Linked DNA regions of Homo sapiens: all the other regions are linked to region 3. Evidence: promoter capture Hi-C in 16 types of primary human blood cells and fetal thymus (Javierre and others, 2016). All regions are on one chromosome and are shown on one strand. The core of a region is centred on a gene start or on the middle of the fragment in contact, and the rest is flanking DNA. Distances in the headings are between cores, read along the strand shown.

Region 1 (2,700 bases), core at 107-2,606, 780 kb after region 3:
GGTGTGGTAGTGTATGCCTGCAATCCCAGGTACTTGGGAGGCTGAGGCAGGATAATTGCTTAAACCCAGGAGGCAGAGGTTTCAGTGAGCCGGGATCCAGCCTGGGCAACAGAGCAAGACTCCATCTCCAAAAAAAAAAAAAAAAATTCCAAGAAGTCACAGGTGAGGAAGCCATAAGACAACATCCTTTTTCTCTGTGAGAGAAAAAAAAAAGTGACTTTTAAAGTGCACTGAGTCTGCTGAGTACTTGTGAATAATTTCAGAACTGAGACCCTATAGCACTCTTGGAGCTGCTGAGCCAGCTGCCATCCCCGCACCCCACCTCACCAACTCCCTGGCTTCCCCCACTTGTGCCAGCACTGCCAGGTGGCACTCAGAGAGCCTCCAGGGGTGTGTCTCCGGACCTGCCATTACCTACAGGAAGGGGCTTACATAGACCAGGGAAAGCCAACCCTGCCTTTTCAAAGGAACTTCATGCAGCCTGGGGACTTTTTTGACTTCTGTGAATTGTATCATCAGCTTTCCTGGTTCTCAGGGGATAACTATCTATCTTCTACAGAAAAATCTTTCTTTTCTATAGAGAGAACAATGCTTTCTCTCTCTCTCTCTCTCTCTCTCTCTCTCTCTCTCTATATATATATATATATATACGTATATATATATATGTATATATATATATACGTATATATATATATATATATATATACGTATATATATATGTATATATATATATATACGTATATATATATATATGTATATATGTATATATATCTTTATATAGAGAGAGGTAGATACTTATTATATATATAATCCCTCTTTACATGTTCCTCAGTTGGGCCCTGAGCACTACAGCTTGTCTCCTTTATCTGGAAGCTGATTGCATGCCTCCCCTCTCTCCCTGGCACAGCAGCTGGGAGCAACTTGCACATGACCAGGCTTTATCATTTTACATTGGAAATAATATGTTTCCATCCAGGATTTCAGTGAAGCTTCATGTTCAATCTTTTGGGAAGTCAGGACAGGGGGAAATGTTGTTAGTTTTTTCTTAACCAGAAGAACATAGAAGCCAGAAGAGACAGTACTAAGCTATTGTCCCCTAAACCAGTTTCTGGTGGAGAAAAGTGAGGCTCAGGGAGGTAAAAGTGTCTGCCTCAGTTGGTTCATCAGCGCCAGTGGCAGTGCTCTAAGGAGACGCCAGGCCTCCGGTAACCACTCAGTGTCAGAAGTTCAGGCAGCAACAGGTGCATGAGGAAGGAGTGGGGACATTCCAGAAATGCAGCTGTCAGGAATTTTTTAAATTGTTTTCCTTTCCTCTTGGGCCAATCATTGGGTATTTACATTCACTGTGGTCACCTGAGCCAGGTACCGCAATTGCATGTCCTGGAGTAGAAACTGATGTGATACCCAAGACTAACACTTAGTTCCTTCTTTGCCTTTAAGTACTAAGTGGATCTGTGATTTTAGGCAAGTGATTGTCCCTTTCTGGGCCTGTGGTTTTTTTGTTTGTTTTACTTTTTTGTTTTTTAATTATCATGACCAAAAGTCTTTTATTATTAACAACAATTGCACACTTTTTGTTGGGAAAAAAGGTATACAAATTATAAAACAGTTAACAATGTTTCCTTAAGGAGAGAAGTGTTAATGCTCTTCTCTAATTATGCTTTTAATGGTATTTTGTTCTATTTTTTTATTTTCAATAGCTTCTTTATTTCCCTTGGGATATTGAAGCTTTACTTAATCTTATTCTTTCTAAGTAGGGTAGAGAATTCCTGTTTCAAGTCTCCACAAAACAAAATCCCTTTTCTTGACATAGTAGAAAGGACAGGTGCTTGGATGTTTGGTTGGCAGGGGAAAGGAAAGAGTCCAGGTGCTACTGATAGAAATATTCAACCAAATCCTCCAGTTTTCGACTCCACCACTCACTGTGGTGCCTTCCTCAAGACCTTGGAGCTCCAAGTCTCTGAAGAATATTTCAGGCAATGAGAGGAGTCCCTGACTAAGGTAAAACCCTCCTCTCTGTCTCTTTCTGTGTGCGTGTATATGTATGTATATGTATATGTATATGTATATGTATATACATATACATATTCTATTGCTGCTTCCTCCTTAAACTCCACTAGAATAACAATGAAAGGTATTTAACATATTAATCCACCAATGTGAATAGTTGAGAGATGCCAACAATTTGAAAGATGGAAAAGAGGTCTGCAAATGCTCATTGTCGTAGCACAGCTGAGAAAGCTCACTGAGGCGCTGAGAGTGAGATGCGAAGGGACGGCCAGTGCAACACGGGCCTGTGTGTTTTTATGGACAGTATGAAGGTATTGAAACTGATCAGTAGTCTTCAAACATTTTCTTTCTTTCTTTTTTTTTTTTTCTTTTAGCAGGGAGATCTATTTCTCAAGTGAAAGGTAACTGAAACTGTCATGCATGAAACAAGCCCAAGCAAGCAGCTGCAGTTGCATGGTCAGCTGAGCCAAGGGCAGAGAGATGAGCCAGATGGGCTTCCCGCCCCTGGAGGGAGCCCCCATCCCCAGAGGGCAGACTCTGACACTCCTTCCCAGGTTCTTGGGGCATCACCAAAAAGAGTGGAAATCCCTACATGTTTTATCTCCAAGGGTCTCTAACCTTCTGTAACACTGCTCTGTGAATGCAATGAGACCATGTAAGAAAAGCACTGAGTAAAACCAAGAGCCTCAT
Region 2 (2,737 bases), core at 131-2,630, 700 kb after region 3:
TGTTGGGAGGTGGGGCCTCGTAAGAGGTGATTATGTCATGAAAGCTTGGCCTGAAGGAATGGATTAATGTCATTATCAAGGGAGTGAAATAGCTGTCACAAGAGTGGGTTTCTTTTAAAAGTGAGTTCAGCATATTTTGCTCTCTTGCTCTCACCCTCCCTTGCTCTTCCACCTTCTGCCATGGGATGATGCAGAATGAAGGAGTGCAGAGCGTCCATGGCCTCTCTGGGCTTGCTATCCTCCCAGCACCCTCAAATGTTCATCAACTTGGAAACTCTGAACTCTGTCCGTTTGGGTTTTTATGGTCACACCATTAAGTAGGTATGGCTGATTAAATCATTGACCATCGGTGATCAACTCAATCTTCAGCCCCCCTTCACCTGCTTCCTTCAGGGAGATCAGAAGTGAGGGAGTGTGGCAGCTAGGGCTGAAAGCTCAGACCTTTTAATCATGTGGTTGTTTCCCCTGGCAACCACCTCCCATCCTGTGGTTATCCAGGAGTTTTACAAAAGTCATCTCATCGGCCGGGCGCGGTGGCTCACGCCTGTAATTCCAGCACTTTGGGAGGCCGAGGCGGGTGGATCATGAGGTCAGGAGATCGAGACCATCCTGGCTAACAAGGTGAAACCCCGTCTCTACTAAAAATACAAAAAATTAGCCGGGCGCGGTGGCGGGCGCCTGTAGTCCCAGCTACTCGGGAGGCTGAGGCAGGAGAATGGCGTGAACCCGGGAAGCGGAGCTTGCAGTGAGCCGAGATTGCGCCACTGCAGTCCGCAGTCCGGCCTGGGCGACAGAGCGAGACTCCGTCTCAAAAAAAAAAAAAAAAAAAAAAAAAAAAAGTCATCTCATCAATGTTAACTCAGGTGTGGTGGAAAGCGGCCTGTTGTGAATAACAAAAGGCTCCTTTCTGTGCTTTATTGCTTTTATCCCTTAGGAAATTCCAAGAGTTTTAGAAGTTGTATGTCAAGAACAAGGTGAAGACCAACATAGGGATGGTTCTCAGCTTACAGTGATTTGGCTTACTATTTTCTGACTTTGTGATGGTAGCAGAAGCAATACAAATTCAGTAGAAACCATATTTCCAATTTTGAATTTTGATATCTTCCTGGTCTAGTGATATTCAGTAAGACACTCTCTAGCAAGGCTGAGCAGTGGCAGCGAGCAGTAGTTCCCATTCAGCCACGTGCTCACTGGGCTAAACTGACACTTGGTATCGTCCTGAAGAACACTATTGCTGCTGACCCATAAACAAGTGTCCGTGTTCCAGTGCCTTCTATCGGCTCTTCTTAAGCCTCACTGGAAGAGAGAGAAATTGATGACCCTGTGGCTGTAGCACCCCCATCATTCAAAAATTAATTTTAGTTCAATTCTTCAAACATATTTCAGGCCCAGTGTGCTTTCAGCTGTATGTGCTAGTGGTGGGTACTCATACAACCATTCTGTTTTTCACTTTCAGTACAATATTCAATAAATGACATGAGATATTCAACATTTCATTCTAAAATAGGCTTTGTGGTAGGTTATTTTGCCCAACTTTAAGTTAATGTAAGTGTTCTGTGCATGTTTAAGGTAGGCTAGGCTTATCTATGATGTTAAATAGATTAGCATATTAAATGCATTTTTGATTTACAGTATTTTCAACTTATCAAGATATTTCAATAAATCAGATTTATTGGGATATAACTCCATTGTAAGTCAAGGAGCATTTGTACATAGTTCTTACTATACCACTATATCACATTTGCCCATGGCTTGGACTTATGTAAATGGTTACCATTAGAAGCACAATAAAATTTCATTGATTTTTAGATGTATTGGCCTTGACATTCATGATGGTACAATGATATCTGAAGGGCTGTTCCATTGTCACAAGTGAATTCCTATTTACAGACCCTTTGAATCCACCAACAAAAAGTGTATTAAAAGATCAATGAATATGTATGTGTTGAATATCTACTGCATGCCTGGCTATGCTCATAGCCTTCAAGAGCCACAACAATTCCTGAAACAAAATCATACTCCCATTTAACATATCAGCCAACTGACCCTCTTGAATGGTTAATCAAATTTGCCCAGCATTACCCAGATTTTAAGTGATGATGCCAAAATTTAAAACCTCGTTTTCTAACTGAGAGGGAAATAAACAGATAAACAGAGAAGAAAATGTAAATCACAGACGAATTGGATACTTGAAGTGCATATCAGAAATAGGTACAGTCTTTAATTGTGTGGAAAATGTAAATTGCTACTAAAGATAGAACTTCCAAATTAAAGAAAGTAGAAATAGAGTCTGCCATATATTGTCTTTTGAGTGCTGCGAACAGCTTTTAATATCCAGTGTTAAATGTCTCAGCAATAGTCTTTTATGTCTGATGAATTGTCTAAGAGGTTTTGCAGGTCTGTCAGGGTTTGTGCTTTCATATAACACAAAGTTTTCCAAGCTGACTCCAGCCTGTAATTTGTTCTAAGTGTATCTTTTCTTCACATGGTTTGGTTGAGCCATAAAAACATTCAGAGGAAGCAACATAGTGTGCACGCCTGGATTCTACTTGTAGAATAAATTGATTTATGCAAAATCACTTAATCACCATCACATGGGATCAAAAGAGGAGTGAACTGGCCACATTCCTTAGGTCAAAATAGTTGAAATTACATAGCAAGCCCAAGGACTTATAATAATGATAACTTACATTTGTATAATGAACACTAATATCCTGAAAGCTTACACTTACATTAA
Region 3 (2,718 bases), core at 94-2,593:
ACCCAGGAGTGAGTTTAGGGATGAGCTCTGTGAAACTGCAAACTAACACTGTTCACCATTCCAATCAGTCAGCCAGGAAAATCAGTTTCCTTCTGAATTCTGTTACTGACATTAGTGACTGAACAACCTTGCACATATTACTTAGAGAACTCAAGTTCTTCACCTGTAAACCAGGGAAAGTAATAGCCAGCTCTCTAGGTCAGCAGGAGCTGAAGGTAAGTAAATGCCAGTTGCCATTCCTACTTCTCTAGGGCATACTGTATCTTAAGCTTCTTAGAGGATTTCTGAAGCGCTGTCATTTCTCTGGTAGGCCTTCAATTAACCAGCTCTACCATCGTCTTCTTGATATTTGAAATGATTATTCCTGGTGGTTTGGGAGGCCCCTGGAAATCCAAAGAACAACACTATTGAGGAGCTGCGCCACAGTATAGACAGAGACAGCCAGAGAAATAGCCATGTAGGTAATAGACAAGTAATACTCATAACAGAGAAGCCAAATGAGTAACACTGGTGTAAAGTAATAAAAACAGTATTGATAAAAAGTTCAGGCATATCGACACCTTTTAAAATCAAAGTATCCATATTTTGATGATAGTTATTTTCTTTTCTGTCTCATTCCAGTTTGTTTGCTTTATCCAATAAAAGCCTGGTAGAGATGACTCCCGGCACTTTTCAAGAGTAAGAATTTAACCCCAACTTTAACCTCACTTTTGAGCTCCTTACTCTTGTGAGTGGAAGGATGTCTGCGTGATTCCAAAGTCTAAGTCTCCTCTACACCAAAGCAGAAAGAAAATCGTATTACTTTAGAAAATGTTAAAAATATATTTCCACAGGGCTCCAGGAGTTAACTTATACTTTGAATGACCTACTTTGAATGGAGGCTTTCTTTCTAGAGGGCTTACTTAATGAAGGTCAGCCAGGAAAGCCAGCCATGGGGCCTGGTCTTTAGATTTCAGTTGCAAACAGTCGGGGAGTCCAAGCTCCAGGAAAAGAAGATTGAAAACATTTAGTCTTTTAATTTTCTGTGGGTAGGTATCCTGATTCTTTCTCCCAAAAGAATGAAAGGATCTTTAACAATTGAGTTAAGGGCTTTCTTCTTGCTCCTTTGATGCTATATATAAGGCCCAGACTTCCACTTTAGAAACACATTTTTACTTGCTGCTCAGGTCTTTCCTGATGATCATTTATGACAAGGAGATGACCATGAGATCCTCACTCAGAAGAACTGGCCTAATGAGTTTACCTGAACAGCGTGGAGAGCACCAAGGGATCTAGGCTGAGGTGTCCGTCTCCTGTGAGGAGGGGCGGCAGTGCAGAGACCTTGGGGCACTGGAAATTAGTAAGGCGGTGGGTTGAATTCTTCTCGATGCTAAGCAGTGCCCTTCAGCAGAAAACCTCCTGATAGGTCCGTTTTAGACTTGGTTTCCTGTGAAATGCAGCCACAGACCTGAGAGGTCTGACCTGAGGGCTGGCAGGACTTCCTCTTCTTAGGCTGGAGTGCAATACGTGAAGCTTTCAGAGGCTGAAATCTTCCAATGCAAAGGGTGTTTTTAAAGACACACGGTGTCCTTATGTGGCACTTCATAGTTACCAGAACACAATAAAAGGAACTGCTGGGCAACACTCAAGCATGGAAGGTGGGTTTTGCGAGTCTCACTTTATATGAATAGTGGACATTAACTATCATCTTTTGGCTTAATTTTGCAATGGCTTCCTGAGACCATCCCAGACACATGGACCAGGTGTTAAGGAAAGAACCTGGGAACTAAAGGAGAAATGCCTGCCTCTTATTCTTGCTGTATTAATTATTAGCTATAGGATCTTGGGCACTTTGAAGTTTATTTCTCAAGTAGTTTGAGTGATAATAATATTTGTATTTTAGAAACTTTTTTAAAAAATGAGGGATAATTGAGGATTATATTTCCTTCATTGAGGAAATGATATTTCCTCAATTGTGATGGAAGGATAATATTTATATTTTAGAAGTATTTCAATAAATAAACAAAATATTGTAAATAAAGGCATGCAGTAATGTTTGGGCACATATCAGTTGCTTAATACATTTTCTTTCGGCCTTAATCTTGGTCCATTTAAGCTGATCTTGCCGAGTGCCTGTTTCCTCTTCTGGAGACTTGACATTCTAGTTTTATATAAATTGATGTTGAATTCCATAACAAACTCCAACATTATTTACAATAAATTCAAAGGTAGAAGTTTATATTTTCTTGGGTAAATAACTCTGGTTTTGACTTAACAGACACCCCAAGGAAAACATGAAAATAAGCACTCTTTGAATGCTAATTGTGAGTCAGTTACATTGCTAAGCAACTTGCAAGCATTATCCTCCTTAATCTTACTAATAACCATGTAAGGAACATATGTAAAATCCCATTTTGTAATTGTGAAAACTGAAGACTAGGGAGACTCGAGTAGTTTAACCACTTTATTAATTAGCTTTTGCTGCATTAGGGGCTTAAAGCAGTAACCACTTTATTTAGTTCATAATTGTGTGTGTCACTTGCTCACTTCTTTTGGTCTGGACCCATATTAATTTTCTGGGGTTTTCATAACAAAGGACTGAGCCCTGAGTGGCTAACAAAACAGAAGGTCAAATTGTATTGTCTCACAGTCTGGCCTCTGGAAGTCTGAGATCAAGGAGTCGGCAAGGTTGGATCCTCCTGAGAGCCATGAGGAGAAGATCTGTTCCAGGCCTTTATC
Region 4 (2,700 bases), core at 26-2,525, 810 kb after region 3:
TTATGTAGCACTGTGACTAACACATGTTAGATGCTTGATAAGGCATTGCTGCATGACTAATGCACCACTGTATAAGTGAACTGGGGAACTTTAAGCACATTTCACCTCCATTTTTCTTACCTGAGATGAATATTTGGATACATACTATTCAAGTGGATTGAGGGACATAATGTATTTGATCCAGATGTATGTGAAAGGTACCATAGACCAGCAAGACTACTTAACTCAATCAGAATTTTACTTTCCAATAGAATAGTGTTGTAATGATATTTTGGTGTTTGGTCTTGAGGGCTCTCTCTTGAGAGTGATCCTAAGTCAAGATAACAACTCTCTCGGAGAGTCATGATAGGGGAAATGTTAGGTTTGAGTGTGTGTTTCAGGTGAGATACAATGAGAAAATGAAACCAAAATGCGTGAAATAGAAAAAATATATATTTTGTACATGTCCCAGAGAGGTTACGGGTGCTGATGGGCTGCTGATGGAAAGTCCAGAGAAGGTGAGAAGCTCAACCAGCAGGGGCCAGCACAGGACCCAACCTGTGGGACTATGCCCCCATTAAGGTCTATTGGCGTTATCCCTTAGGCTTTTCCAACGGGGTTGTGGACTGGCTAATTGAAGAGAATATATGTGAAAGGAGGAACTTATTTACATGATTCTGAGGTTCATCATTAGATTGCTCATAGTCAGCAGCTGTGGATATGCTGAGTTTTGCATCACTGGGATGAGGAACAAGCAGAATCTATCAGAGTCACATAGGAGAGGGGAAATTATAACTAGGTCAGAGGTGACATGGCGTGCCTGGGTTTCAAATAAATTACATCAGGCCTAAAAATGAATGCTGAGGCAGCAACTATATTAAACAAATTTATGAACACTAAATATTTAATAAGGAATTTAATAAAGAACAAGAACCTTCGTCTGATCTTAAAATAATATTTATTCTGGTAGGACAACATAATACCTTGAAGCCCAGCTAGCGATTTTTTAAGAAGAACATATGTATTCACAGAATCAGAGCCAGCTGGCAGTGAGTAATATCAGTAAATGAAGATCCTGTTAAGACACTCATCTCAAACTCTGTAACACCAGGAGGTACAGTGTTGTATAAAGAGGTAGGGAGGGTTGGGGAGCCTGATAGCTCAGTCCCAGGGATAAACTTGGCATATCTTCCTGCTAACAATTTCACTTGAATGATGAAGATAGTGGGGAAACAGGTAAATGTTTATGCTTAGAGTTTATATCATATCCAACAAATCTGTTTTAATTCCACACAATTACTTGTTAATTTTATGTGCCAGGTTTACATTTTGATAATAAAAGGAAAACATTAACTCTTACACATCCGATCAATTCTTTACACCAAATTCTCAAATTTGATTTTTTTTCACAAATATATAATTCTGCTGTTTCATTTTCAACTTCAGTGAGTTTTCTCAGCGAATCTGTGTGATTTGCATGTAGTGACATCAGCATCGTTCTGTGTTTAGATCCTGCCCTGTCCCCCGACATTATGCACAGATATAGATGTGAAGGTGTGCTTGAAACCCACTGGAATGTCCTTCCCGAAGCCTGCTGAGTTTCTCTTCCAATGTTTCATGATGGCTTCAAATATGAATCACAGTTTTCTTATACAGTTTTGTTTCCCTGGAAGGTTTTCTTTTCTCTTCTTAAATTTTTTTGCAAATTGTGCTTTCATCTTATTCCTCCTCATCTTCTTCTTCTTCTTTTTTCTTTTTTTTTTTGAGAGAGTCTTGCTCTGTCACCCAGGCTGGAGGGCAGTGGCGCAATCTCGGCTCACTGCAACCTCTGTCTCCCAGGGTTGAGACAATTCTTGTACCTCAGCCTCCTGGGTTGTTGGGATTACAGCTGCTCACCATCACGCCTGGCTATTTTTGTGTGTGTGTGTGTGTGTGTGTGTGTGTGTGTGTGTGTGTCTATTTTTATTAGAGATGGTGTTTTGCCGTCTTGGCCAGGCTGGTCTCAAACTCCTGACCTCAAGTGATCCTCCTGCCTCAGCCTCCCAAAGTGCTGGGTTTACAGGCCAGAGCCACTGCGCCCAGCCTACTTATGCCTCTTGTTTCTACATTTCCAACCTTACTATCTGTTCTGATTTATCCCTTTTTAGGGGGTGATCATTCTTTTCATTCTTTTAACCCAATACAGATTATTTGCCCTGTAAAATGGCTTCATTAACAACATTCTCTAGACTTCCTGTTTCTACTGCCCTGTATTGATCTCACCACTTTCTGGTGGTCATGTCATCTTTTTTTTTTTATTTTCGTGTATGCTGGAGTACATTCTCAAGGAACTTCCTAAGAGTGTATGTGAGAAATAAACTTCATTCTTATCTTCCCTGACAATTTGGCTGTGTATAAAATTCTGGGTTGGAAACTGTTTGTCCCTTACATCTTGGAAATCCTTTCTCTGTTGTTTTCTGGCATCCAGTGTTCCTGATGTATTTGAAGATACCCTAACCTCTCCATAAGACTGTAGGTTCTTTGTTTTATCATTAGTGTTCTATTTTTTTTTTTTTTTTTTTTTGACTTGGGGTCTTTCCTTGTCACCCAGGCTGAAGTGCAGTGGTGCCATCTCAGCTCACGGCAACCTCCACCTCCCAGGTTCAAGCAATTCTTCTGTGTCAGCCTCCCAAGTAGCTGGGATTACAGGCATCCACCACCATGCCCAGCTAATTTTTGTGT
Region 5 (2,700 bases), core at 160-2,659, 720 kb after region 3:
TGCAAGTCCTCAAGGTAAGTGATGTTTTTATTTTAAAAAGTGAGGTTCAGAGAAATGAAGTCTTGTGTCTAGAAAGTTAGAGGAGGTGAAAGGATTCAAACTCAGTCTAAACAAAGCCAGGAACTTCACTGTCACTTTCACTTTTCTTGGCAATGTCTGGAGTTAGTGAGCAAGTTATTAATGAACTTGGCTCTACTTCTTTGGTCCTGTTGAATAGTTGTGCCTTGCACCAATTCTTTGATGAAGGACAGAATTTCTGTGAAGGCCCAGACTTGCTAAGATGGGCAAAATGAACCTCCGATGGGTTAATAGGTCCCAAAGGGAGACCCAGCTACCCCTCCATTTACTTCCCTTTATCAGGGAGGCTGTTTTCTGGGTGTTATGGTGAAAACCCAAGGCCTGAGTTTCATGAATTGAAAAGATTAAGGTCCTTCCTATCAGCAACAGTAAGCTTCCTCGAGTCCCACTGTGAAGACAGTAGCCACATGCCAGGCATGGGAAACCCAAGGGAGATTCCACAGAATCTTCCAGATGGAGGCTTCCCTTGCACTTGGAATTAAATCTAAACTCCTTTCCAAGGAGGCCTTTCCTGCAAATGGAGGTCTTGCCTTGCTCTACTCTGTCCCCTCGGGCCTGGCATGATTTCTGGTATATAGCACATACTAGACATTTTGTTTGCTGAATGAACTTGTCAAATGCAGTAGACAGGCAAATAGCTGGAAGGTACTGGGAACATATTTTAACACAGTAGGAAGAGAAACTTTAAGGGTTTGAAACTTCTGTCTCTAGAGAGTCAAGCAGAAACCAGATGTTGAAAGGGGGACTCAGCATTTCTAATCGTGATTGGGCGACATCACCTGAGAGCCTAGAAAATATTTGGATTAAAAAAGAGGGGAAGCAATGAAATAACCCTTCAAAAATATTTTCATTTTCTCCTTATGTCTCCTTATTACATAATTCACATCATGACCTAGATTTCAAATGTAATTAACTGTAATATATTCTCTCAGTCCCACTACTGGAACATATTCATAGATGAAATGAAATAACTAGGATATTTCACAAGAGGTACATTTAATGAATCTGGAACAGCGATGCCTGCCATCTGTCTGTCTGCAGGACACCTTCACAGCCCCTCAATGAGAGATGGTGACACACTGTCACAGGCAGGAATCTCCTCTAGGGTAGCAGGGATGATCAAAGCATACAACCACAATTCACTTATGGGATTTAACAAAAGGGTTAGAAGGAAAGAGATTACCTGCTGAGCACTCACTGGGTGCCAGGTGGTAAGCACTTGGGTATAAATTATTTCTTCTAATACTTGCAACAATACAAGAGGTGGTTGTTCTCATTTTATTTTATATTTTTAAGCAATAAAAAGGTGGTGGGGAGTAGTAGATGAGCAAAGAATCTTTTGCAATCAGGTAAATCCAAGCTAGAATTCTTACTGCTAACTGACCTCAGTAAATGTCTAACCTCTCTGGGTCTCCACATTCCCCTCTGCAAATATGAGCTTAAATCTACTTGATAGGGGTGTCATCATAATTAAATAAGATGACCCATGCCAAATACACGGCACAGTGTCTGGCACACAGTTATTCAACAAATGTTAATGGCCTGCCTTTCATATTCATATCTGCCATGACAGAAATGGATACATGCTGTTAAGGTTAAATGACCTCCTCAAGGTCACAGAACCAGGAAATATCAAAACTAAAATATTCCACTGGCCATCCTCAAAGCCCACGGTGTGCTTTTGTCCCCTTTGAATGGTGATGCTTCCCCTTGGGCAGTGGGGAGTGCATTCCAGGCAAGGGAGAGCTTACTTAAAACCACAATGAGATAGAAGTGTGAGATTTATTATACTGTTATGCGAGAACTGCTTCTTTCCAAGAATCCCATGGTGTTGAGTGATTTAATTTTCTGGAACGTACTGAAACATGAGAAACACAGGTTGAACAACAAAACTGTCTTTTTTTTTTTTAATCTACCAAACTTCTGGGCAATCAAAAGTATAAGATTATTTTTTCATTGTTAAGAACGAAACATGTCTTCACTTTCATCTTTGCATAGCTATGGAAGAGCACCTCACAGTGGTGTCAGATTTTCATCCTTGGCAGGTCATTTTAGAAACAATGAAATTGGAAATACGTTTAGTTTGTGCCTGTCAGCCTATGAGAGGACAGTGATATTTCAAGACCTACATAAATATTTATTTTCTTGAAATTGCCTATACATGTCAATCTTCAACAAATGTTGACATTCACTTTTGTTTGGATTTCCTTATGGTAATTGCTGTGAGGTGGGATGGGGTGAAAAGAGTTTAGGGTAGAAAGGACCGTAAGTCAGGCCACATAATGTTAATAAGCTTCCTTGGACCACATTTACTATGCAGTGGGGGATAAGTTACAGTAATTGGCCCCACTTTTTCCTTGAAAAAGAGGAGGACTATTCGAATATCTCCTCCTCTAGCCTTCTGTGCTTCCTTGAATCCTCTGCATGTCTGAGAGGTGCCATATTTACAAACGTTTAACTGGATAATAAATTGAATTCTCTGAAATTGAAGGAAGGAGATGCTTTGGCAAGCCAAGGGAGGCAGCTTGGTGTAGTCACTGGGATAAGGATTCCCATCTTGGTGTTATTTGTGAGCCTCTAAGTGCTCCTTGATAAAATGAGAATGATAAATGCAACCTGTCC

The links. The method cuts DNA at HindIII sites, captures the fragments that hold promoters and counts their contacts. A CHiCAGO score of 5 or more calls a contact.
Region 1: a fragment that was not itself captured here is called in contact with the fragment with the promoter of CLNK in region 3 in 2 of 17 cell types (total B cells and naive B cells); the score reaches 11.2 in total B cells.
Region 2: a fragment that was not itself captured here is called in contact with the fragment with the promoter of CLNK in region 3 in 1 of 17 cell types (total B cells); the score reaches 5.7 in total B cells.
Region 4: a contact is called between a fragment that was not itself captured here and the fragment with the promoter of CLNK in region 3, in 1 of 17 cell types (naive B cells). The highest score is 5.8, in naive B cells.
Region 5: a contact is called between a fragment that was not itself captured here and the fragment with the promoter of CLNK in region 3, in 2 of 17 cell types (total B cells and naive B cells). The highest score is 9.9, in total B cells.

What each region holds. Positions count from the first base shown.
Region 1 is chr4:11,467,831-11,470,530 of GRCh38, forward strand. No RefSeq gene overlaps it. Among named protein-coding and RNA genes, the nearest start is that of HS3ST1, 40 kb to the left of the region's middle. RefSeq lists an enhancer at 2,352-2,541. The HindIII fragment of the contact is 739 bases long and covers 988-1,726 here.
Region 2 is chr4:11,387,471-11,390,207 of GRCh38, forward strand. No RefSeq gene overlaps it. Among named protein-coding and RNA genes, the nearest start is that of MIR572, 20 kb to the left of the region's middle. The HindIII fragment of the contact is 2,677 bases long and covers 43-2,719 here.
Region 3 is chr4:10,683,425-10,686,142 of GRCh38, forward strand. It overlaps CLNK (cytokine dependent hematopoietic cell linker), which reads right to left and starts at 1,344. Exons shown (of 19, transcript NM_052964.4): 1 at 1,244-1,344. The HindIII fragment of the contact is 1,243 bases long and covers 268-1,510 here.
Region 4 is chr4:11,488,829-11,491,528 of GRCh38, forward strand. No RefSeq gene overlaps it. Among named protein-coding and RNA genes, the nearest start is that of HS3ST1, 61 kb to the left of the region's middle. The HindIII fragment of the contact is 3,384 bases long and covers 1-2,700 here.
Region 5 is chr4:11,404,882-11,407,581 of GRCh38, forward strand. All of the region lies in intron 1 of HS3ST1 (heparan sulfate-glucosamine 3-sulfotransferase 1), which reads right to left. Among named protein-coding and RNA genes, the nearest start is that of HS3ST1, 23 kb to the right of the region's middle. The HindIII fragment of the contact is 1,920 bases long and covers 450-2,369 here.